7 separate regions of the Homo sapiens genome follow, and regions 1, 2, 3, 4, 5 and 7 are each linked to region 6. Evidence: promoter capture Hi-C in 16 types of primary human blood cells and fetal thymus (Javierre and others, 2016). All regions are on one chromosome and are shown on one strand. Each heading gives the region's core, a stretch centred on a gene start or on the middle of the fragment in contact. The rest is flanking DNA. Distances are from core to core; before and after follow the strand shown. Region 1 overlaps DIAPH3 (diaphanous related formin 3). Region 2 overlaps DIAPH3 (diaphanous related formin 3). Region 3 overlaps DIAPH3 (diaphanous related formin 3). Region 4 overlaps DIAPH3 (diaphanous related formin 3). Region 5 overlaps DIAPH3 (diaphanous related formin 3). Region 6 holds the start of DIAPH3 (diaphanous related formin 3). Region 7 overlaps DIAPH3 (diaphanous related formin 3).

Region 1 (3,271 bases), core at 155-2,654, 430 kb before region 6:
CCTGACAAAAACAAGCAACGGGAAAAGAATTCCCTATTCAATAAATGGTGATGGGATAAGTAGCTAGCCATATGCAGAAAATTGAAACTGGACCCCTTCCTTAAACTATATATAAAAATTAACACGAGATGGACTAAGGAGTTAAATGTAAAAACGAAAACCATAAAAACCCTGGAAGACAACCTAGGCAATACCATTCAGGACATAAGCACAGGCAAAGATTTCATGACGAAGGTGCCAAAAGCAACTGCAACAAAAACAATTGACAAATGGAATCTAATTAAACTAAAGAGCTTCTGCACAGCCAAAGAAACTATCAACAGAGTAAACAGACAACCTACAAAATGGGAGAAAACATTTGCAAACTATGCATTTGAAAAAGGTCTAATATCCAGCATCTATAAGGAAATTAAATTTACAAAAGAAAAAATAAACAACGCCATTAAAAAGTGGGCAAAGGATATGAACAGTTCTGCCTAATTTTAATGCCTATATTCTTTGCATACTCATTATCATTTATTCACCATTTATTGAGAATCTACTATGTATTCTATGTTAAGCTAAGCATCAGACATAGAAATATGAACAAAACTTAGGCATTGGGACTATTGTTAAACAAAATCAGCATAAAACCAGGGAAGTTTTATGTCAGCCTCAGAGTATAAAAAAGATAGTATCATAGTGAGTAAGGCAGCAATAATTTTACTAGCTCCAAACCCCAACATACGTGGACTTATAAAGCTTGATGTAAATCTTGATTTAGGTAAAGAGCTGTAAGGCCTGGAGTAACTTACTCTCTTAACCTCACCTTTTGCTCATCTGTAAAAGTGGATTTACCTCAAAAAGGTTATTCTGAATTCCAAATGAATTAACCTATACAACAAAACACTGGCCATTATAGTAGTTGCTCATTCTACGCAAACTCTTATCTTCAAATACATTCTAAGTTTAGTTGCCATCCTCAGAAATATACAAGGCCTATCTTCTTCATTTAAAATATAAAATTAGGCCGGGCACAGTGGCTCATGGCTATAATCCCAGCACTTTGGGAGGCCGAGGTGGGTGCATCAGTTGAAGTCAGGAGTTCGAGACCAGCCTGGCCAAGATGATGAAAATCTGTCTTTACTAAAAATACAAAAATTAGCCTGGCATGGTGGTGGGCACCTGTAATCCTAGCTACTTGAGAGGCTGAGGCAGGAGAATTGCGTGAACCTGGTGAAGGGAGGCTGCAGTGAGCTGAGATCACGCCACTGCACTCCAGCCTGGGCGACAGAGAGAGAATCCATCTCAAAAAATAAAAAACAAAATAAATTAAAATAAACAATTACCTGATATCTAGAATTCTTTGACCAGAACTGGTGCCCATGACAACAACGGCCTGGGGTCATCTTAGTAGAGATCCTGCTCAAGAAGGTGGCCTGCCAAAGCAAGGGGACCACAGAGGCAAGAGGGTGGGGGTGAATGGGGAATGAGTGGGATCAGGAGTGGCTGGCTGTAGGAGTAGAAAAAGCTCAGCAGAGGAGCCTCCAGGGAAACAGCGAGCTCTGTGGACTGGCCAGACCCAAGGCATGCCAACTTGCTAAAGCAGTACCTAAATTGCTTAAGAACTGTCTTACTCCTTTAGCTTTCTTCTCCCTCCTTGTACTGGAGAAGGGAGGGGCTGTTATGACAGGCAGGCCCCCACCAAGACGGATTTACCCTACTGTCAAATACTAAGACTACTAAAAAGAGGATATGCACAAGGGAATATATTCCTCAACTGATGAAAACCTATAATCCCACTAATCCATGAAGGTATCTTTAAGTGGCACCACTTTAAAAATCTACTCCTTCACATAACAGCTTGCAACACCCATAAGGGAATTCTTTAGATCAAGTCACTTCTGCATCTGTTCCAGTAACAGTTACAGACTGACTTGAAATGTATCTTTTCAAATTTTGAAAAGTCAGTTTGACCACTGTACATATTTACCTATATGCCTCCTTGTATACTGAGATATTTTCCCTAACACATCATCTGTCCATAAAAACTTGACTATGTTTACAACCAATGGCTTTCTCACTTTTGGAAGCTTTGCTTCCTTTTTTTCCCCCTTTTTGAATTTTTCTTTTTACAGAATAGAAGCAATACAATTATATGTATTAAGAACATTTCAGGGCTGACATTTAAACGCTCTCCTTACTGGCCTCCCATCTCTCCTGATCATGTTTCTTAAGAACTATCCCTCGTGCTTAGGTCCAAAGTATCAAAATTAACAACTGTTAGTAGAGGGATTAGTAAAGGGATTTGAAGGTTTGAATTTGCGTTTTGTTAAGAATGTGATCCTTTAGAATAATGTGCTGTATAAAATAAACTGACTACGTTTCATCTACTGAATTGCAGTTCGAATCTTGAATGTATTTGGCATCCTAATACTGAACTGTTGGAGGCTGCATGGTATAATACAAAAACCACATCAAATACAAGAGTCAGAAATTTTTTACTCCATATGTAACACTGTGAGCTGATGCCTTAACTCCTCTAAGTATTCATTTGTTAATTGGGAATACTAATACCAACATGTGCCCTCACAATACCCTTTTGAGTATTAATGATTACAGCACCGGTGCTAGTAGCATCAGAAGTACAATGGTCACTGTGGTATTCAGGTCTACTTCAGTATTACTCTGGAACAGGCATTTTGTGAACTGCTTTTACATATAGAACTTATTTAGTAACCACAGACATCTACTAAATATGTTTATTTTATTGATTTTAAATAGAGAAAACTGAGACATAGAGAGATTAAACATAAAGTAAATATCAAAACTGAGATTTGAATCCAAATCTGCTTATCCCAATGTACATCCTCTTTATCACAGCGCTACAGAGACTCCTGCAAAGCACTACTCAAACATAATGGAGGACCCTGAAAAATACACAAGAGTATAAAGTCAACCCTCTGAATCCACAAATTCAACTAACTGTGATTCAAATATATTCAGAAAAAAAAGTTCTAGAAAGTTCCAACAAACAAAACTTGGATTTGCTGTGCACCGACAACTTGAATCCACATGAATGAAGTGATGTGTAGGCACTGTATTTGGTATGATCAATAATCTAGAGGATGTGCCTAGGTTACATGCAGACACTATGCCATGTTTGTAGGAGATTTGAACCAATCTCCTACAAATACTAAAGGATGACTCTACTTACATGCCAATAATGAAACTTCAGCAGATATACACCATTCACATTTTTGATAATGTGTATACACTCATTTATCTACTT
Region 2 (3,125 bases), core at 594-3,093, 370 kb before region 6:
CTCATGTAAAAAGCACCCGCCTTTGAGACACATGTCATTCAGTTACACTGCTGCCATCCCTCTGGGTCACTGTCATCTAATCACGCACAAGTCTACCCTCTCATTCAGAATAAACTGTCAATTGAGTCAGTCTTCCTCATCAGGCCAGGCTCTGCCATCATCTTGTGAGAATTCAGTTTAATGTTAATATCTAATCCAACACCAGGTCCTAAGAGTTCCTTGACCTCCTCCTCTCCAGGGAGCAATCCCTTCTACTTCCCATCACCGACTTCCTTGGCCATAATCGAAATCTTGTCACTACCCAGAGCTGTTTTACTTCCAATAACTTGAATTCATACAACCATTTTCTGACCCATGTCCTTTTCCTCTCTCTCTTTTCCTGTCATCTACCCATGAAAATCTCCAATGCCCTGGCACCACTGTTTTCATATCCTTGACTATCTAGTTTAGACTCTGTGGTGCATCACTTTGACCATGGTTCACACGCTGGTATCTTACTTCCCTCCTTCATTCTCCTACTTTTTCAGACTCCCACTAAAATGTAAATAAGCCCCAAACTCCATCTTCTTGGCATTACTCCAGATGCTGAGTAGTGCCGGTAAGAAACAATACCACAGGATCTGAACTAGTACATATGTGCAACTGCTACCTCAATTGGATTCTTAATGCTATTCAGCACTCCTCTGTGTTTCATCAGGAGGCTCTCCCACTCCCTGAGAGGGTTTACATGCTTACACACTTCACTCAAGCCTCCCAACCAACCATGGCCCTTCCTCTGCAAAGGCCTTCCTTTTAGATAGAAAACAGGAACCACTTGATGAAAGCTTCCTTAACTTCCCACCATCAAACCTACAAATGTATCTGCACTTAGGCCCAACATTTCCTCCTTTCAATCTATCACAATGGCAGAGCATGTGGATTTCCAAGACAATTTCCTCTACCTGTGCTAGTATCTTGTTGTTCTCCACCCCTCCTGCCGCCCTCAGAAGTTTACTCCATTGATTGTCATTCTCTTCCAATTGCCCTCCTTTCTCATTCCTCCCAGTCTGCATTTAAACAAATTAAAACACCTGCTTTGTCCTCCCCTTTGACTTCTAAATCCCCTGTAGTTACTACCCTTTCTTACTCATATCTCAGTCTCATCTCCCATATTCATTCATTAACTCTTTACGCTATTCTTTGAGCTAAAGTCAATGGGATGGCTGTTAGTTCATTACATGATTCTTTAGCAGTATTTGATTGTGTTGACTACCCATTCCTTTTTGAAATGGTCTCTTCCTTGGGCTTCATGATACCAGACTTTCTTGGTCTTCCTACTACTTTCATGTGACTCCCTTGTCAAGGTCCTCTTCTGGGATCTTCTTACTCTGCTCATTCTTACACCATTCCTTGAATTTTCCATTGGTGTTTTATTCATTCCATGGCTTCATTTACTGAAAACTCCCAAGTTTTTATCACCAGCAACAAGCGCTATTCCTGAGTTCCAACTAGGGTGACCAACCATCCTGACTTGCAAGACTAAGGGGTTTCCTGGAACACAGGACTTTCAGTGATAAAACTGGGAGAATTAGGCAATCTGGGATGTGTTGGTCATACTAGCCCCTTCCTACTCACTAGACATGGTAACCTGGATGTCCTAGAGATACCTCAAATATAATACAGACTGTTCCCAACTTACAATTTTTTGACTTTACAATCAAGCAAAGCAATACACATTCAACAGAAACTGTACTTGACTACCCATACAACCATTGTCTGTATTCAATAAATTACATGAGATATTCAATACTTGATTACAAAATAGGTTCTGTGTTATATGATTTTGCCCAGCTGTAGGCTACTATAAGTGTTCTGGAATGTTTTAGGTAGGCTAGGCTAAGCTATGATGTTTGGTAGGTTTAGGTATATTAAATGCAGCTTTGACTTAAAATATTTCCAAATTATGATGGGTTTATCTGGACATAACCCCATCAAAAGTTGAGGTGCATCTGTATATACAAACTTGAATTACCATTTTCCCCAAACCTCTACCTCTTATTGTGTCCCTTATCTCAGTGAATGGCACCACCTACTCATGTCAAAACACTATGAGTCCTTTTTAACAACTGTTGAAGGTAAATATAATAGAAGGATTTCTGTATCCCTAAGCACTGAGTTTCCAGTTACATTTCCTATTAGGGGAATATTCAATAGGATTCTTATATAGCCTGTCAGCAATTTCAAATCTTCTTTAGTGAAAAAAAAAAAATTAAAAAATGTATCATTCATTTGAAAAGTTACAGATCTGTTGGATAGTGCCAGTGGTGCAAGATTTTTTTCTTCAATGCCACATCCTTCTACTGTCCAAGTTCTGATGCGAATTTTGATCACTATCTAATCCACTATAAATATCATTTATTTATTTATTTTTATCGAGGCAGGGTCTCATTGTGTGGCCCAGACTGGTCTCAAACTCCTGGCCTCAAGAGATCCTCCCACCTCAGCCTCCCAAAGTGCTGGGATTACAGGAACCAGCTACCATGCCCAGCCTAGTATAAATATTCTTCTTTAAACATTTTGGAATATTTCTAACATGCTGTTTAGGAATGATTAATTTTCCTTCCCAATAAGCTGAAAGAAAGACATGTTCCTCAAGCAATGAAACTCTGGAAAACAATTTGTATTAACTTGTGAATGCCTCAGTCTGCAAGACATAGTACATGCTTTGTAGGTCATTAGGAAACAAAATGGTTGTCTTTCATAGTTCATTCTGTAAATGGCCTGTGGGCCGCAGTTAGCTCCACACATCTCCTCACTCTGTGTGGGCTCCATCAAATATTGCCTTTAAATTTGCCTGGACAACTGCACAAAGGAGAATGAACGAAAGCTTCAGATTAAGAATGTACGAGAAGCACAAGACGCAAGACTCTTCAGGCCAAAGGAAGTAAGACAAAAAAGTGACTTCATGGTGCTCTGGGTTATTATATTTATATTTCTTCATCTTCATTCAGCATGAGACAGTAGATAGGCTGATAATATAATGAAAAATTAAGACTAAATTTCAGGAAGAACTATCTGAAAAGAAATCATTATTACTATAGGGCCTGGCCACCAAGGAAAATGGCATCCTTTCCCTTCTCTTGAAT
Region 3 (3,125 bases), core at 446-2,945, 280 kb before region 6:
CTTTCTTCAGAAACACAGGAAAGTAGAATGACTCCTGACACATACTAAATTAGCAGAATCAGAGTTAGGAAACATGGGAGTAGTAGCAGGCAGAAGCGGTGCAAACCCACAAATCTATCACATGCCAAGTTAACCCTGTCTGGGACTCTAGGTTTCTCTACTGGGAATGTGGGGGACTGGAGGTGTCTAAAAGAACAAAGGGGCAAGTTCCTGCCTTTATCCTTACTCCTGTGTTATATCAACACACATGCAGGAAATAATCACTTAGCTGTAGGCTGAAGACATACCACATATGAAGCTAGATATGAATTCCTTGACCAAACACACTAGGGATTTGGGACTTAAAACGCACTGAAGGGGCGGTAATAGTAAAATTGTTGAACTTCAACAACTATTGTAAATATCAAAAGCAGGTTAAGGCAAGGTCAGAAAAAAAGCAGTGACAGATTAAAATAGGGACTGTTTCTCCCTTAGTCACAGACTGTAAAGGAAAGGCTAAAAAACAATGCTATATGAAGCCTGTAGGATGCCAAATATAATGAAAATCATGATTGTTTGGGATACAGAAAGCTATCAGCTCATAATATAATAATGACCGTTACTTAAAATATACTAGACAAAGGCTTATAAGACTCCAATATATTATAGACACTGCCTTAATGACTAAACATAACTCAGCTTACTCATCTGACAAAAATTGAGCAATAAAGAATTAGTTCTTTGTACACAACTCTGAGAGAATATTTTCATATAGACCAAAGCCCTATAGTGAATGAAAAGTTCCATTTTCAAATAATATAAATATCTAATTTATACTTAGCTTTCTCCCCAGACCCTTGCCAAATTAAATGGTTATTCATATACAATCAAGATTCTAAGGGCTCAATTAATGTAGTTATTAATAAGAAGTCTACTTTACAAGGCACTTTAAGGAACGTCTTCATATTCCACTGTCTAGGAAAAACAAAGAATGTAAGTTCAACAAGGACCAAAAAAAAAAAAAAAAAAAGAAGAAGAAGAAATATCATTAAGTTTATAGAGTAAGTTTAAGCGATATGAAATTATAAAGAGACAAAGATGTACTATTATAATGTTGATTCTTATTGGGCATGAATTGTTCTTTTTAAGCAGTGATCACTTATCACAAAGACATTTGTCTTAAAATATATTATATTTTAAGACAGATGGGTTCACTTACCTGGATTTTTTTTATCCTTAACCATTGCAAAAGGAAGATGTTCATATGACACTGGTAACATGAATAATGCTCTATTACACTTAATATGTCCTTTAGAGCAGTCAGACATACAAAAGAGCACTCACATGTAGTACCTGTAGTTATGGCCATTCTGAAGGTGTATAATGGGCTCATAGCATCGCTGTTTTCAGTAAGTGCCATTATTCATGATTATGAAGCCAGGTACTTGCAATACATATGAGAAGAAATTCTCCAGTATTCTATGCAAAACATTTGTATTACGAAATATATTAATTCTAACATATATTAATGTACTACTACATTCATGCACAGAAGAAAAAAGAGACTGCTTAAATGCCTACATTATACCACCCCAAAATATGTTAAAGCTTTCCTGCTGACAAGCTAACCATATGTAGCCAGCATAGAGTAATTAATTCTCCTAGAAAAATATAACCTAGATTTGTATGAATAATGAGTGTATCTGGCACTAGGGACAGGTACCTTGAAAAGATAGAGTAAGTCTATGATGTAATGCAGAACAAAGTGCTACAAGTTCATGAAAATCCCTGACAAGGCAAAGTCAGGAAATGTAACCTAAAAACAAAGCTTTGAACAACACTTAAAAAAAAAATTAGATGTCCTTTTCCTATTGTTCTTTCTTCCAAGTTTAGATAAATCAGTATTTGACTATTATTGAGTAAATGTGTTTTAATAAATAAAATTATTGAGTGGGAAAAGAACTTGAAAGGTCACCTGGAGAAGGTGCCTGTCTTTAGTTCACTATTTAGTCATATGATGACCCCTAGGCCAAATGGTTGCCCTTTTTATTTAACAACAAAATATCATTTAAGGTTAATGTTCCAAGATCTAAATCATGGAATCTATGATAATAACAGAAGGGTTACTTTTCTTTTTTTGAGGCAGAGTCTCACTCTGTCACCCAGGCTGGAGTGCAGTGGCACAATCTCAGCTCACTGCAACCTCTACCTCCTGGGTTCAAGCAATTCTCCTGCCTCGGCCTCTTGAGTGGCTGGGATTACAGCCATGAGCCACCACGCCCGGCTAATTTTTTGTATTTTTAGTAGAGACAGTGTTTCACCATGTTGTTCAGGCTGGTCTCTAACTTCTGACCTCAAGTGATCCACCCACTTGGGCTTCCCAAAGTGCTGGGATTACAAGCATGAGCCACTGCGCCCAGCCCTTTTCCTCATTATTTGAATCAAACTTTATTTCTTCAGGTGGAATCAAATAAAAAGGGTTAAGAAGGGGGAAAATATATGTATATGTAAAAAGCCCGACCAATGTTTCCGCATCCTCACCACTTCTCATATTCTATCAACACTGGGGATTTGCATTCTGTTTTCCTGCTAAGAAAACTAAACTTCTGACTTGTCTAAGACTAAGTGGAAGGCAGAAATGAACTATGGTGCTCAAATAATACTCTGAATGGCAACAGAAAGTCATTTTTAAAAATGAGAAAAAGGAAAGGGTAAATGAACAATAAACATAAAATGTAAGCTAGTTAATAATTAGAATGCTAGAAGAAATTAGAATTTCATTTTTACAGTTATCCTTTAAATCTATTGTTACAAAGTCTTGGCAATATAAATTCACGAAACCCAAATCTGACAATAATGAGATGTAATCTGAAGATCAATCCAAAAAAGGAAAAATACATTGATTTCACTCCTGTTTTTCCTGAAGGCAGGGAGCAGTACTCCTGTAACCCCCCCACACACAGATGTCATATGTCAGAATGAAGAGATGTTAAAAGCAGTGACTGGTAAAAATCAAGAAGCAATATCCAGAACCCTAAGGGTAATTTTATTTCAAAATTTTGTTTGTTGGCAATATATGTTGTTAGAGAGGGAACAACGTAAAAAGACCTTTAGAAAAATCAATGAACTAACAAGTATTGACTGGG
Region 4 (3,548 bases), core at 606-3,105, 450 kb before region 6:
ATATTTCTATGAAGGTGGTTTAAATATACTGTACGATTCGAAAAAAGCTTTTATTAAATTCTTAAACTGCAAGAGAAGAAATGAAAATAAATTACTAAGCCAGTGAAACAAGAACTTCTACAAACTCCCTTCACTGCTGACATCTTTCCACCTACATCACTTTGCCAGTAGACTCTACCTTTCTTCCCATTTCTACCGATGAACTGTCCATGCTCCAATAAGGCCAACTCCTCCTCTTGCAACCTAGACTTCATAATCTCTCATTCAAGGACAATGCTCCAACAATTTACTCATCTTTTTCTAACATACCAATTTCTCCCCACTTCATTTCATTATTCTCTCCAGCAAACAAACATACTATTTCTCTCATCTTTAAAAAAAAAAAAACAAAAAACCCTTCCCTTGATCCTAATTCCTCTTCAAACTACTAATTCATTTCTTTCCTTCCTTTCATTTTATTATTTTTTTAGAGACAGCATCTGGCTCTGTCACCCAAGCTGGTGTGCAGCAGCATCACCATAGCTCACTGTAGTCTTGAACTCAGGGGCTCAAGCGATCCTCCTGCCTCAGCCTCCCAAGTAGCTGAGACAACAGGTGAGAGCCACCATGCCAGGCTAATTAAAAAAAAAACGTTTTAGAGATGGAGTCTCACTATATTGCCCAGGCTAGTCTTGAACCTCCAGCCTCATCCTCTCTTTCCTTTTATAGCAAACTCCCTTGAAAGAGTTACCTACAATCGCAGTTTCTAATTTCTCTTACTCTCTCTTGAACTCATTCCAATCAGATATTTGTCCCTACCACTGCACTAAAATTCCCCTTCTTCTTGAAGTCACAGTAGCCTCCACATTACCAAATCCAATGGTCGTTTTACAACTCTGACCTTACTTGATTTCTCAGCAGACGGGACACAGTTGTCACTCTCTGCTACCTGAAATTCTTTCTTCCTTTGGCTTCCAGGACTTCACCCTTGCTTGGTTTTCCATCTCAGTGTTTTGTGTTTCCGCCCTTCCTCCTGAGCCCCAAATGTCCGTATGTTCCAGGGCTGTCCTTGAATACATTAACTCTCATATCTACACTTAATTTCAAAGCAATCTACTCCAGTCATATTGTTTAAATACCATTTACCTACTGGCAATCCCCCAATTTATATTTTCACAGCTCTGACCTGTCTCTGGAATGCATTTTCTGAATGCTTTAAATAAGACATATTGCTTTTATAATAATAATAAATATATTTTAAAAACATGCTATTTATTCTGGATTTTAAAAAGACCTTATAGACTAAAAATCCTTTACCAAAAGACCTTTATTCCCATGTATAATTTTTTAAAAAGTTACCAGGTATCAGGACTATAAAGATGAATAAAGAAACTTAAAAATCACCTGTCCTCTCAACACGTAGAGATAACTACTTTCAGACACATATAAACTCTTTAAAATCTGTAAAAAATGCAGATCTATGCCCATTTGGAACAAAATCATACCTGAGAAAAAGTTTTTAAATGAATACATAATCTTTTGTATTCTTTCAGATGAATAACTTTTATTTCTGGGTGAGCCTGTAATTTTATAGAATCATTAGTTTAACATGATTTACTTTTATTAAGTTGGTCTTTTTTCAAAACAACAGATTGGCTACAGCTAAGATAGAAAAGGGCTAAAAAGTAAAAGACACTACCATCAGAGCGAACAGGCAACCTACAAAATGGGAGAAAATTTTCGCAACCTACTCATCTGACAAAGGGCTAATATCCAGAATCTACAATGAACTCAAACAAATTTACAAGAAAAAAACAAACAACCCCATCAAAAAGGTGGCGAAGGACATGAACAGACACTTCTCAAAAGAAGACATTTATGCAGCCAAAAAACACATGAAAAAATGCTCACCATCACTGGCCATCAGAGAAATGCAAATCAAAATCACAATGAGATACCATCTCACACCAGTTAGAATGGCAATCATTAAAAAGTCAGCAAACAACAGGTGCTGGAGAGGATGTGGAGAAATAGGAACACTTTTACACTGTTAGTGGGACTGTAAACTAGTTCAACCGTTGTGGAAGGCAGTGTGGCGATTCCTCAGGGATCTAGAACTAGAAATACCATTTGACCCAGCCATCCCATTACTGGGTATATACCCAAAGGACTATAAATCATGCTGCTATAAAGACACATGCACGTGTATGTTTACTGTGGCATTATTCACAATAGCAAAGACTTGGAACCAACCCAAATGTCCAACAATGATAGACTGGATTAAGAAAATGTGGCACATATACACCATGGAATACTATGCAGCCATAAAAAATGATGAGTTCATGTCCTTTGTAGGGACATGGATGAAATTGGAAATCATCATTCTCAGTAAACTATCGCAAGAACAAAAAACGAAACACTGCATATTCTCACTCATAGGTGGGAATTGAACAATGAGAACACATGGACACAGGAAGGGGAACATCACACTCTGGGGACTGTTGTGGGGTGGGGGTAAGGGGGAGGGATAGCATTGGGAGATATACCTAATGCTAGATGACGAGTTAGTGGGTGCAGCGCACCAGCATGGCACATGTATACATATGTAACTAACCTGCACATTGTGCACATGTACCCTAAAACTTAAAGTATAATAATAATAAATAACAAAAAATAAAAATTTATTTTGGAAAAAAAAAAAAGAAAAGTGCTAAAAAGTAATACCATGGTATATCTGCAAAGATCTTAAAAAAAAACCCCAACAACTTCATTTTGATTATTTCAAATGTACTCTCTACATTTAAAGTTAGTTAAAAAATGGCACAACAAATTATAAAGCTGAAAAAGACATGCCATTTAAAATATGGGAGTAGATTAGGGATATTTTAATAAAATGGTGACTCATCTCTCTTATTGTTAAACAATCAAGGGAGAAGGAATAATAAAGAACTTGCTCAATTAACAATCTGGTTAAAAATGGCTCTGGCAACAGACTGGGTTGCCAGTTGTGTGAGCCTGGGAAAATCTGAGTCTTCATTTATTTGTAAACAGAAGATAATGCTGTGCTGGCTCTCATCTTAACATTGTTGTGATTAAGTGAGATAATATACGTAAATATCCTAGCAGAGTATCAGGCCTTTTCAACAAATGTTGGCTATTACTGCCTTTGTATTAATTTCTTAAACTGTTTTACTACCTCCTTTTTCAGAACAGGTTTATTCACAAAAGCTATTCAAATAAACAAGTTAAAAAAAATTCACAGAGCTCTGAGTTCAGCTTGAAAGTTTTTAAGCAACACAATTTATTATACAGAACAAAACAATACTTTGAGATGAGTTTCTTCTGTCAAAAAGACAAAAACACTCAGAGGATGTAACTGAATGACTATAATGCACCCTGGCCAAGAAGCGAGGCTTTACCTTGCTCTTTAAAGTACATGCAAGTGAGCACTGTTCTTGTCATTTTAATATAGACTTTCCACCCTTAAATTGACTTTATGAAATAGTTAGATAATTGTTGTGTACTTTTAAGTCACTTTGCCAGTGTTCTTGAACCGTGAAAGTAATTAA
Region 5 (3,403 bases), core at 326-2,825, 350 kb before region 6:
TTCTCCATTTCTATAAGTCTGACTTTTTTATATACCACACGTAAGTGAGATCATATTATGGTATTTGTCTCTCAGTGAATGGCTTATTTCACTTAATATAATGTCTTCTGGTTTCATCTATGTTGTTGCAAATGACAGAATTTCCATTTTTTCATTTAAGTCTGAATAGTATTCCATTGTGTATATGAACCACATTTTAAAAATCCATTCATTCATTGTTGGAATCAACATTTTTGAACAGTATGAGTTGGAGATCCAATTCACTTTTGCCCATCCTTTCTCCAATAATATGCAAAGTCACTTCTTTTGGATTTCAATTAGCACATGTGTGTTGCTTCATTTTATGGCTGTTTTAGTCCATTTGATCAATATAACCATGTCTCTAAGAATAATACTCTATTTTAATTATTAAGGCTTACATCTTATTTTTCTTACTTAGGAATGCCTTCTGTATCCTTGGGCCTTTGCTCTTCCATCTGTATTTTAGAATAGACTTGTTAAGTTTCATTGAAAAGGACTATAAGCATTTTTAATTGATATCTTCACAATTTTGAGTCTTCTGTGAACAGCATGTGGCTTTTTATTAACTTGGATCTTTAAAAAAAGCTTTAGAAAAAAACTCATTTTCTCCATTCAGGTCTTGGACATTTTTGTTAGATTTACTCTCTATACATTTCTTTTGCTATTGTAAATGGTGCCTTCTTCAAAAACAATGATTTCTATTGTTTTGTAACATATAAAAATGTAATTTTTACTTTTTGTAGAGATGGGGGTCTTGATAATATTGTCTAAGCTGGTCTTGAAATCCTGGGTTCAAGTGATCCTCTCACCGTAGCCTCCCAATGCGCTGGGATTACAGGGATGAGCCACCACACCCAGCCTAAAAAATGTAATTTTTATATATGCTACTGATAATTTTTCTTATTATTTCTGATAGTTTTCCTATAGGATTTGTTTTTGCTATTCATAGAGTGCTATAATGTCAGCTTGATTTTCTCCCTTTTCAATCTTTACATTTTCAACTCCTACTTGTCTTATCTTGCTATACTGACTAGGAGTTAGATTCTAAGTATTAGGTTAAAGGGTTTCCTTTGACTCCTTTCCTACTTTGGAGTAGGGTGGAGGGTTAAATTAGTTCATGGTTCTTGTTTTGAAATCTGAATAGGATTTTCTGACTTGACTGAGAGAAATTTCACAATTTTTTTTCCCATTAGACTCAATATAGTGAATTATATTTATGAATATTCTAATATTAAGCCATACTTTCACTTCTAGGATAAACTCAATTTGGACAGGAAGAATTTATCTTTTTGAACATTTAGTCATAAAATACATTTTTGTATTCCATTTGTTTGAGATAATCATTTCATTAAAATTTGGTAAAATGTATCTGAAAAACTTCTAGGCCAAGTATTTATTTCAAAGATTAAAAGTCATTAAAATCAAAATTAGTTATAGAACTATTCATGCTTTCTATTTCTTTTAAAGTAATTTCAGTAAGTTATTTTTGTCTAGGAACTTATCCATTTCATTTACCTTTTCCAATACTATCCTACAAATTTTTACAGAAAGCTCCTCTCTTTTTACTATTTTCTGTATCTTTAGTTATGTTCCTTTTTATATCCTCAATATTATTTATCTTCTCTTTTTCTTGATTAATCTTTTTAGCAATATATCTAATTAACTTGTCTTTTCAGAATAACCTCATTTTTGCCTTTTATGTCACTTTTTCTTTCATTTAATCTTTCATATCCCTCCTTCTGGTTTCTCTAGGATCATATAAATCCTTTTTAAATTTCTGAAGTCAGATGTTTTTAAGTCTTTCTGATAAAAGTTATTTTATTGATACATAATACATGTACATATTTTGGGGGTACATATGATAATCTGATACTTTTATATAATGTGTAAAGATCAAATCACGGTAATTGGAATATCCATAACCTTAAATATTTATCTTTTATATATGTAGGAACATTTGACTTATTCTCTTAAGCACATATGGTATAAATTTATACCATTTTTACTGCATCCAGCAAAGTCTAATGTGGGGTATTTTCAATATTGTTCAGGTATAACTGTTTTCTATGATTTCATCTTTGACATATGACTTTTTAAATGTGTTTTTAGAATTTTCAAACTAGAGGTTTTAAAATTTCATCCTTTTAATTTTATTTCTAATTTCATGTCATTGTGGTCAATAAATAAATAAAACTGGCACTGAAAAATGTATTGAGATTTCATGGTCTCTAGTATGTAACCAATTTTATAAAAGTTCAACTTGTGCATGAAAAAATGTGTATTCTTTAATTATCGAGTTTGAATTCTATATACACTAATCAAATCAAGTCTGTTAATTGTTTAACGCTTGTCTTTAATGATATTTTTCTGCTTATCAGTAAGTTAAAGAACTTTGTTGACATTTCCTAACATAATCCTAAATCTGTCAACTTATCGATATAGTTTATTAATTTTTACAATGTCATTTTGGGGCTATGTTATTAGGCACATACCATTTTTAAATTGTTGTATCTTTCACGTGAATTAAGCTTTTTGTTGTCATGAAGTAATTAATGTCTTGAGTCAATTGTACCTATTAACATAGTTTCCCTTTCTTCTGATTAATAGTTGCCTTGTATTTCATTAACTGTCCTGTTACTTCAAACATTTCTATATCCATAGGGTAAAGGGAGGTCTCTTATAAACAGCATAAAACCAGATTTTATTTTTTATACGATATTACAGTCCTTTAAAAAATTTATTGTGATTTATAAAATGTTTGTTTCCATCTATTTGTCTAGCTTTAGTTATGCCTTTATTTTTCCTGATTTTTTTTGGTGTATCCTTCTTAGTCTATTTCTCTCACTACAGTTTAGAATTTATACTTGATATTTCTATCCTTTCACTGGTTATCCTTGTATTTTTATTACACAAATAAATTTTTAGCAACTTAACAAGACCTAAAGTTAATTAATATCTGTATCTCCCTTTCTCCCTTGACTAAAATAAAGAAAACCCAAATTCTAAATCTCTCTCACTCAATTTATAAATTTATGTAACATTGTTTTATTGTGTACTTTCTTTACATTTGTTTTCATAGTACCTATGGCTTCCTGTCTCTCAATCTGTTTTTTGTTGCTTCTTTAAATACAACCTTTAGAGCAGAGGCTATCGAACTATAATCCTTAGATTGACCACGTATTTTGTAAACAAAGTTTTACTGGTACATAGCCACAGCCGTTTATTTACATATTGGATATGGCTGCTTTTGCACTGTTACACGAGAGTTGCCACAGAGACTGTATTGCCTGCAAACCTGAAATATTTACTATCTGGCTATTTAAGAAAAAGTTTTCCAGTCTCTGAAAAAAAATCTTTTAACATAAGGATGTTGATGAAAAAC
Region 6 (3,243 bases), core at 243-2,742:
TGGGAAGTTAACTCTGTCCTATTCATTCTTCAGATTTGTCAAGATAATGATCAAGTCCATACTTGATCCTTCTGCAAAATGTCACTATTCCTATGACCATTTTGATACTTAATTTGGCATAATTAATCTATGCTGTTCCTCATTTTCAATTAATCTATGCTGTTTCTCATTTTCAGTATTCTGATATATCTCATGTATCAGAATATGGGCTCTCAGTCTTATTCAACTATTATTTTTAACTAAATGTTATAGTTAGCAACTGGTTCACAAACCATTATTCCCTTAATTTGTGAATCATGACTTAAATTTCTCACAATTTTTACTTGCCCACATAAGGCAAATGCTGTACTCTCTCTCTCTCTCTCTCTCTCTCTCACACACACACACACACACACACACACACACACACAGTTTTTCCATATTCCTAAGGAAAATGGTGGAGTGGTCAATGTGAAATTTCAATTCTGTTGGACTCATCCCAAATCTATCAACCCTCTATGTGATTTATTTACACACACAAACCCCAAAATAATCATCACTGCCTATACTTTCACTAGTTGACACCAACGAAAAGACAAGGTGTTAATCATGACACTTTCCTTAAGTGTTAAACACAAGCAAACCAGAATAGCAAGTTTCAAATATTTAGAATTCTTTCCAAGCTAAGCAAAACATTCTTTAGCAGTGACCACACCACCCGCCAAGTTCTAAAACTAGCTGTTTCAACTTGGAAAATTATATCTACCTTAAAAGTTCTTATATGTAATTAAAAGTTCTTATTAAAATAATAAGCAGAAAAAAAACCTGTCACCTAAAAGTTCATTTTGATATATCTTATACCCTCTTACACTAGGGAGGAAGGGAGAACTTCGACTTAAAAAATGCAATGTCCACCTAGATGACGTCAATACATATACACGTTTGAACTGCTTTTCACATCAGCGTTAAGAAATTTGGGGGCAACACAAAGATCTGGGCATTTGTCACAGGATCCAACTACAACTAGACCCGGTCGTTGTCAATCTATGATCTTTGGCACCTCTGGATCTCTAGAATAAAACTTGGTCCCCAAGTTCTTGTGGGCCCACCCTCGGCAGTCAGCCCTACGGCGGGGCGGGAGCGGCCCCACCCTAGCTCCAGGCGATACTCACAAACTTGGGGCGCTTCTCCCCAGGCTCCTCGGGGCCACTGGGCGGCGGAGGGTGTTGGGGGCCCTTCCTGCGCGGCATCTTGCTTTCCCGGCAGCCGCGGAGAGAGGCTGAGGAAGGGTAGGGAGTCCCAGCGGCTGAGCCTTGGGCCGGGTGGTGCAGCCGCGGCTGGTGCCGTTCCATCTTTCCCCGCAGCTCCGGGGACCGGAAAGAAGGTGGCCACTCAGCAAGCCGCAAGCTGGAAGCTGAGGGATCGACAACAGGTTTTACTCCCGGGGTCCGCCACCCAAACAGTCAGCACAGCCTAGCCCAACCGCTGAAGTCGGGGCCGCAGCCAACACATCTGAAAACTCCCGCCACCCGTGTTGGCCCGGGACTGGCCAATCCCGCGCCGCCGGATCAATGACACGCTGAGGCACCGCCCCTTCCGGGCACTGCGAAACATGATTGGCCTTGCGGCCTGTCTATGCAGCCGCTCAACCCTTCCGGCGGTCCAGGCCGCTCACCTTAAGGACGCAGAGTGGCGTCAGATTTGGAGAAGCGCCGGGGACCGTGGAGGAAGTCATCGGCCTGGATTTCTTTGGATTTGCAGATAGGGTTCCAGCAGAACTGGAAGGTGGGCGAGACAGGCCCTGCGCCACCATTTGAGCAGCGCTGGGATATAAAACCATCTGCTAGCCCTCTCCTTGCACGTCTGGGGCTGGAAAAAGTAGTTCTGGGACTGGGTACGGTGCTGGAAGGGGTACTAGGCAGGATGAAACGACGGGGCCCACGACGCTCCAAAAGGAAGCCTTCTGGACATATTTCCTGCCTAAGTGCTCGCTCTGGGGTGGCAGAGGGGTCCACCCAAAATCAGACAGAGCTAGGCTAGGCTGAGCCCTTCAGGAGCTCACAGTCTCCTGTAGTTTCCAAACCCTAACACAATTAACCAAGGAATGTAAATGTCTATAGCAGTTGTTTTAGAAGTTCCTTGAGAACAAAAAGGGAAGTTATTAAATCTGAAGGAGTGGATCTGGAAAGGTAAAAGGAAAGCTGCATAGGTTTTCACTAGGCAGGAAACAGTGGCAGGGCATTCATTTAAAAGGCATTCCATTCCAGGCAGGAGCAAGGCCAAGAAAGCATAGAGGTGAAGAAACTTTAAGGTCACATAACAAAGGGCCTTGAACTGAAACCATGCAAAAGAGTTTGTTGTGTAAACCCAAGGTCAAGCTACAAGGCAAACACCGTTTTCTCAACACATCAATATACCCTCTTTAAAAATGAGCTTTTCCTTGGAACTATTCCTTTAAGATATCTGTCTTCTGATTATATGGAGGTGGTGTAGGCCAAGACTCGGAAACATGCAGTATTGATTTTGGTACAAGAAACAACTCTAGGTACTCTGAGGAGTTTGGCACAGAGGTTCAAAAAATGAGCCTTAGTTCTCAGTAAGTCTTCACACTACAGCTTTTCTTTTTTAATATTTGTTTTACTGTGCCAGACTCTACAGCTCTGTCCTCAAAGAGCACATAATCTTTAGGGAAACTTACAGGAGAACAGCAAGGTCAGGAGAACTACAAGTAGTTCCTTATATCTTGATGACAGACCCAGATACAGATTTTATTCCTGCCATTTACTAGCTATTTGATACCGGAGATGACGTTTAACTTTCTTTGCTGCTTCATCTACAAAAGGGGGGTAATTATACTAATACCTATGAAAGAGGGGCATTTTCAGGCCTAAATAACATAGCATATGTAAAGCCCTTAGAGTTTTGTCAATGCTCCTACAGGAATACTGTAGTTGAAGAAGTTGGGATTATTACTCAGGGAGGGAGAACATGCACTATGGGGAGCCATGAAGTGTCTTAGGTAAATGGTATTAGAAAGCACTTAAAGGATTTGGGCTTTGATTAGGTGATTTGGGAAAGACTCCGTGGAAAGAGGTGGGAAGGGTTGCTCAAGATTAAGTGCCTTCAGGAAGTGGAGACAGTTCAGTGATTATCTTATCTAGGAGGATGGCAGGCTAAAAGACAAGCCTAAAGCTGTAACTGACAAGCATTAGTCATCCATATCATGGAGAGAGGGGAATGTTTGATTTTGAAAGACAAAACAAA
Region 7 (3,354 bases), core at 716-3,215, 470 kb before region 6:
CTTCTATTTATAGATATGACCTATTGATGGTAAAAGTGCACCTGAATAATCAAAACCACTGACAAAAAAATAATAACTGAAAAGGTCAAAAAGTGGATCAATTGAACATTTCAACCTCACAAGTAAGTCCAAACATAAATGAATAATGAATCCATAAATGTTTATTGAGCACCTATATGCATAAGACACAGAGCTAGGAACCACCAAGAAGTTTAAGGTACTGTCATTGGTCTGAAAGGGACCAGGGACAAAAGAGGAGCTTATGTTGACTCATTTTTAGTGTCACTCAAGTGTCAAATGAATTGTGCACATAATAAATACAATAGAATTTTGGTGGAGTGAGGTCCACCTAGAGATAGTTTAAGTGAAATCATGCTTCATAAGGGCAGGGTCTCATTTCAGTTTTGAGTAACAATAGGATTAGATACATCAGAAACAACTTGCAGGGAACTTTACGTAAAGGAAAAATCTATTAAAAATGCTACCAAGTACCCATTTAGTGGATGGTTAGGATTCAAGACAGGCCACACTCATGCAGATGAATATATGAAGACAATGAAAAAAACTCACATAACATGGGTTAACTAATACTAACATTTTAGTATCAAATTATGTTGGAAATTTCACATAGAAGATGTTTATGTAATAGAGTTTCACCAAAAAGCAATCAACTACGTAGACTGGGTTTCATCTTTATTATGTACTAGTCAATCCCCAGGCACAGAAAGAAAGCAATGATTGAGGGAGAGATAATTGTGAATCTCTTGTTATAGAAAGTTAAAGATTGCAAGAATTTAGCACCTTCTTTCTTCTGCTGCAAGAAAGTCTCCTGAAAGGCCACAAGATTTCTGAGGAAGCTTAAATACAGGGGAGAAAGTAAAGAAGGCCTGGACTACCTGGGGAGAGAGGCATTCTAATCAGTCAGAGAGAAGAATTTGAGCCTCAAGTATTCTGTTAGGAGTACGGCGGCCTCCTGCTGTCCACACCCTGTCTCCTTCTTCACCCACACAAGAGGAAGGAAGGAATGAGCTGGGAAAATGGGAAGTGCAGGTGGTATGATAAAACCGATGAAGGATTGAAAATGGATTGCACTAAAATAAAAAACAAACAGAGTCGTCATCAGCAAACAGATGGCTCCTAATAGAGAATAAAATTTGATTAGACAGTTTCCCAAGTATATATCTGGTGCACCAGAATCAAGGAGAAATTTTTAGGCAAATCATGAAGGAAAACTTTCTTCTTCATGGAAGAAAGCAAAATTCTGAGTAAGAAACGAGAAGACTGCTATTCTGCAGGTTTGGATGGAGATATTATTTGACAGAAGTTGGTTTCCACGCTGATTTTGATGGCAGACGGTGGGGAACAAATTGGTTTTAGGGTGGAAAGATTTGGCAGATGTTGGGGGACAAGTTGGTTTTAGGGCGGACAGATTTGGCAGATTAAGAAAAAAAACTGTATTAAGCAGTGTGTGTGTGTGTGTGTGTATGTATGTTATGCAAGTGATGCTTTAAGTAAGCTGATCACAGAAAACTGAAGAAATTCAGACCATATAATTATGACCCTTCCAGGACATTTTTTTATGCTATGAAAGTTGCTACTCTATCCAAATAATGTTAAACACAGACATCCAGATTAAAAGAACTGGAAGGTCATCTAATTTGCACAATGTCACTTTACCCAAGAGGAAACCAAGGCCCAGAGATATTAACTCATGTGTTTTCGACTTGCTCATGGTGAAGAAAGGATAACATGATGGTTACCTAGCTTCCAGGTGATGGGGTTGGGCAACTGAAGTTGAAACATCAACTCTGCTCCTTTATTTTTCACTCCATTAAAAGTCCAAAATTCAGTCTAATTTCATTTGTCTGTGAGCACTTTATGCCATGATACACTGCATTTTTATAGGGCTTTATGTGTTTCAATGCATTCTTATATACATTACTTTACCTTTTCTTCAGCATGAGCAGGCAAGAATTACCAAGTTGGCTGGACAGATGCAGAAATTCAGGCATAGTAAAGTTAAACAATTTATAAAGCAAATTAGTGAAAGAGCTTGGCCTATGTTCAGCCATCCTGCTCTTGTCACTAGATCATATTACATTTGCTGGTTGGTATAATTTGCCCTAGACTGCATTTTCTATACAGAAGAGGAATTGTATTTACTTAATGTAATGAAAACATTGCACATTTGTAACAGTGTTGTTTTCTGCTATTTTTCATTACAACTGCATAGTGTTACAGCTACATTATGGGTTAAATAGACTCTTGAGGGCTAGCCTGGGAACCTAACCACCATTTATAACATTCTTTCTATGGGAAATTGCTTTGTGAATTCCAAAACAACTGATTTAAAAATTAACTTTGGGAATACACTGGTTTCAAAGTAGAAGATTGTTGGTCAGACATTTCATGTGATTGGTTGCTTAATTCATGCAATTGAAGCAAACAATAATGGATTGCCTACTATGCATCTACCAGCCATTGTGCTGAGGCCAGGGATGCAAGGATGAACAAGATCTTAGGCCTTGAGGCACTCATATCTATCAGAGAGAAACAAATTATTAAAACAAATAAATTATAAATAAGTGCTAAAATAGAGCTATGGGAAAAAATACTGCAGAAGCAAAGAGGACAGAGGAACTAGACCTCCAGGGGATTTACTATGAAAGTAACATTTGTGTTGGGTCTTGACATGTAAGTAGGAGTCTGTCAAATAAAGAAGAATAGTAGGGCATTGCGGGTAGAAAAAGAAGCAAATACAAAATGCTGGGAGGTAAAAGGGTCTGGTGTTTAGGGAGAATGATGGCAGCAACACACAGGAAGGCAGGATGGCTGTTAATTATCAGTTGCTTTTTAGTCATTAAAAATTTAAGTAATTTCTTATCTTATCTTTTTGGATTTTCCAAAGGAAAGGGGATGACTAGATTGAGAAAATTACACAGACCCTTGCCCTGCATGAGAGAGAAGAATTTCTGCTTACTCATATCATTAGTCTTGTTTTTTATCCCCATGGGTCATACTGTCAACCTTGAGCAATGTTTTGCTGAACTATGAGATCAGATCAAAGATTATAAAAGCTTACTTACTGATATCTAGGTGTTTAGGAAATATGGTAAAAGACCAGTAGTTAAAATAAAACCTGGCACATTTGAACCATTTCCATATGCTTGCTTCTGTTAAATTAATATGCTTTATATCAGCAAAATTATAATCTTTTTGACCACAAGAAAAGGTCTCACTGTGAACATATGATGATTAAGGAATATTCAGAATAAAACTCAACCTGAAATTTCAGTCTGTATATAGATCAATTTTAGTTAAAGCATGTAGAACGAATAAAATAAGCAAAAGACA

The links. Contacts are between HindIII fragments. The CHiCAGO score rates a contact against its expected background, and 5 or more counts as called.
Region 1: a contact is called between a fragment that was not itself captured here and the fragment with the promoter of DIAPH3 in region 6, in 1 of 17 cell types (M0 macrophages). The highest score is 6.0, in M0 macrophages.
Region 2: a fragment that was not itself captured here is called in contact with the fragment with the promoter of DIAPH3 in region 6 in 1 of 17 cell types (M0 macrophages); the score reaches 5.4 in M0 macrophages.
Region 3: a contact is called between a fragment that was not itself captured here and the fragment with the promoter of DIAPH3 in region 6, in 2 of 17 cell types (M0 macrophages and erythroblasts). The highest score is 6.3, in M0 macrophages.
Region 4: a contact is called between a fragment that was not itself captured here and the fragment with the promoter of DIAPH3 in region 6, in 1 of 17 cell types (M2 macrophages). The highest score is 5.0, in M2 macrophages.
Region 5: a contact is called between a fragment that was not itself captured here and the fragment with the promoter of DIAPH3 in region 6, in 1 of 17 cell types (M1 macrophages). The highest score is 5.3, in M1 macrophages.
Region 7: a contact is called between a fragment that was not itself captured here and the fragment with the promoter of DIAPH3 in region 6, in 1 of 17 cell types (erythroblasts). The highest score is 5.4, in erythroblasts.

Annotation. Positions count from the first base shown.
Region 1 is chr13:59,736,878-59,740,148 of GRCh38, forward strand. All of the region lies in intron 27 of DIAPH3 (diaphanous related formin 3), which reads right to left. Among named protein-coding and RNA genes, the nearest start is that of DIAPH3-AS1, 270 kb to the right of the region's middle. The HindIII fragment of the contact is 1,331 bases long and covers 740-2,070 here.
Region 2 is chr13:59,792,280-59,795,404 of GRCh38, forward strand. All of the region lies in intron 25 of DIAPH3 (diaphanous related formin 3), which reads right to left. Among named protein-coding and RNA genes, the nearest start is that of DIAPH3-AS1, 220 kb to the right of the region's middle. RefSeq lists an enhancer at 617-1,482. The HindIII fragment of the contact is 2,042 bases long and covers 823-2,864 here.
Region 3 is chr13:59,879,989-59,883,113 of GRCh38, forward strand. All of the region lies in intron 20 of DIAPH3 (diaphanous related formin 3), which reads right to left. Among named protein-coding and RNA genes, the nearest start is that of DIAPH3-AS1, 130 kb to the right of the region's middle. The HindIII fragment of the contact is 220 bases long and covers 1,586-1,805 here.
Region 4 is chr13:59,707,612-59,711,159 of GRCh38, forward strand. All of the region lies in intron 27 of DIAPH3 (diaphanous related formin 3), which reads right to left. Among named protein-coding and RNA genes, the nearest start is that of DIAPH3-AS1, 300 kb to the right of the region's middle. The HindIII fragment of the contact is 3,621 bases long and covers 46-3,548 here.
Region 5 is chr13:59,814,875-59,818,277 of GRCh38, forward strand. All of the region lies in intron 24 of DIAPH3 (diaphanous related formin 3), which reads right to left. Among named protein-coding and RNA genes, the nearest start is that of DIAPH3-AS1, 200 kb to the right of the region's middle. The HindIII fragment of the contact is 1,943 bases long and covers 605-2,547 here.
Region 6 is chr13:60,162,436-60,165,678 of GRCh38, forward strand. It overlaps DIAPH3 (diaphanous related formin 3), which reads right to left and starts at 1,493. Exons shown (of 28, transcript NM_001042517.2): 1 at 1,152-1,493. The coding sequence starts at 1,331. LOC105370227 (a long non-coding RNA gene) reads left to right here and starts at 1,622. Exons shown (of 2, transcript XR_942001.2): 1 at 1,622-1,764. RefSeq lists enhancers at 1,882-1,931, 3,020-3,243. The HindIII fragment of the contact is 7,568 bases long and covers 1-3,243 here.
Region 7 is chr13:59,688,327-59,691,680 of GRCh38, forward strand. The region is part of intron 27 of DIAPH3 (diaphanous related formin 3); the gene reads right to left. Among named protein-coding and RNA genes, the nearest start is that of DIAPH3-AS1, 320 kb to the right of the region's middle. The HindIII fragment of the contact is 2,220 bases long and covers 856-3,075 here.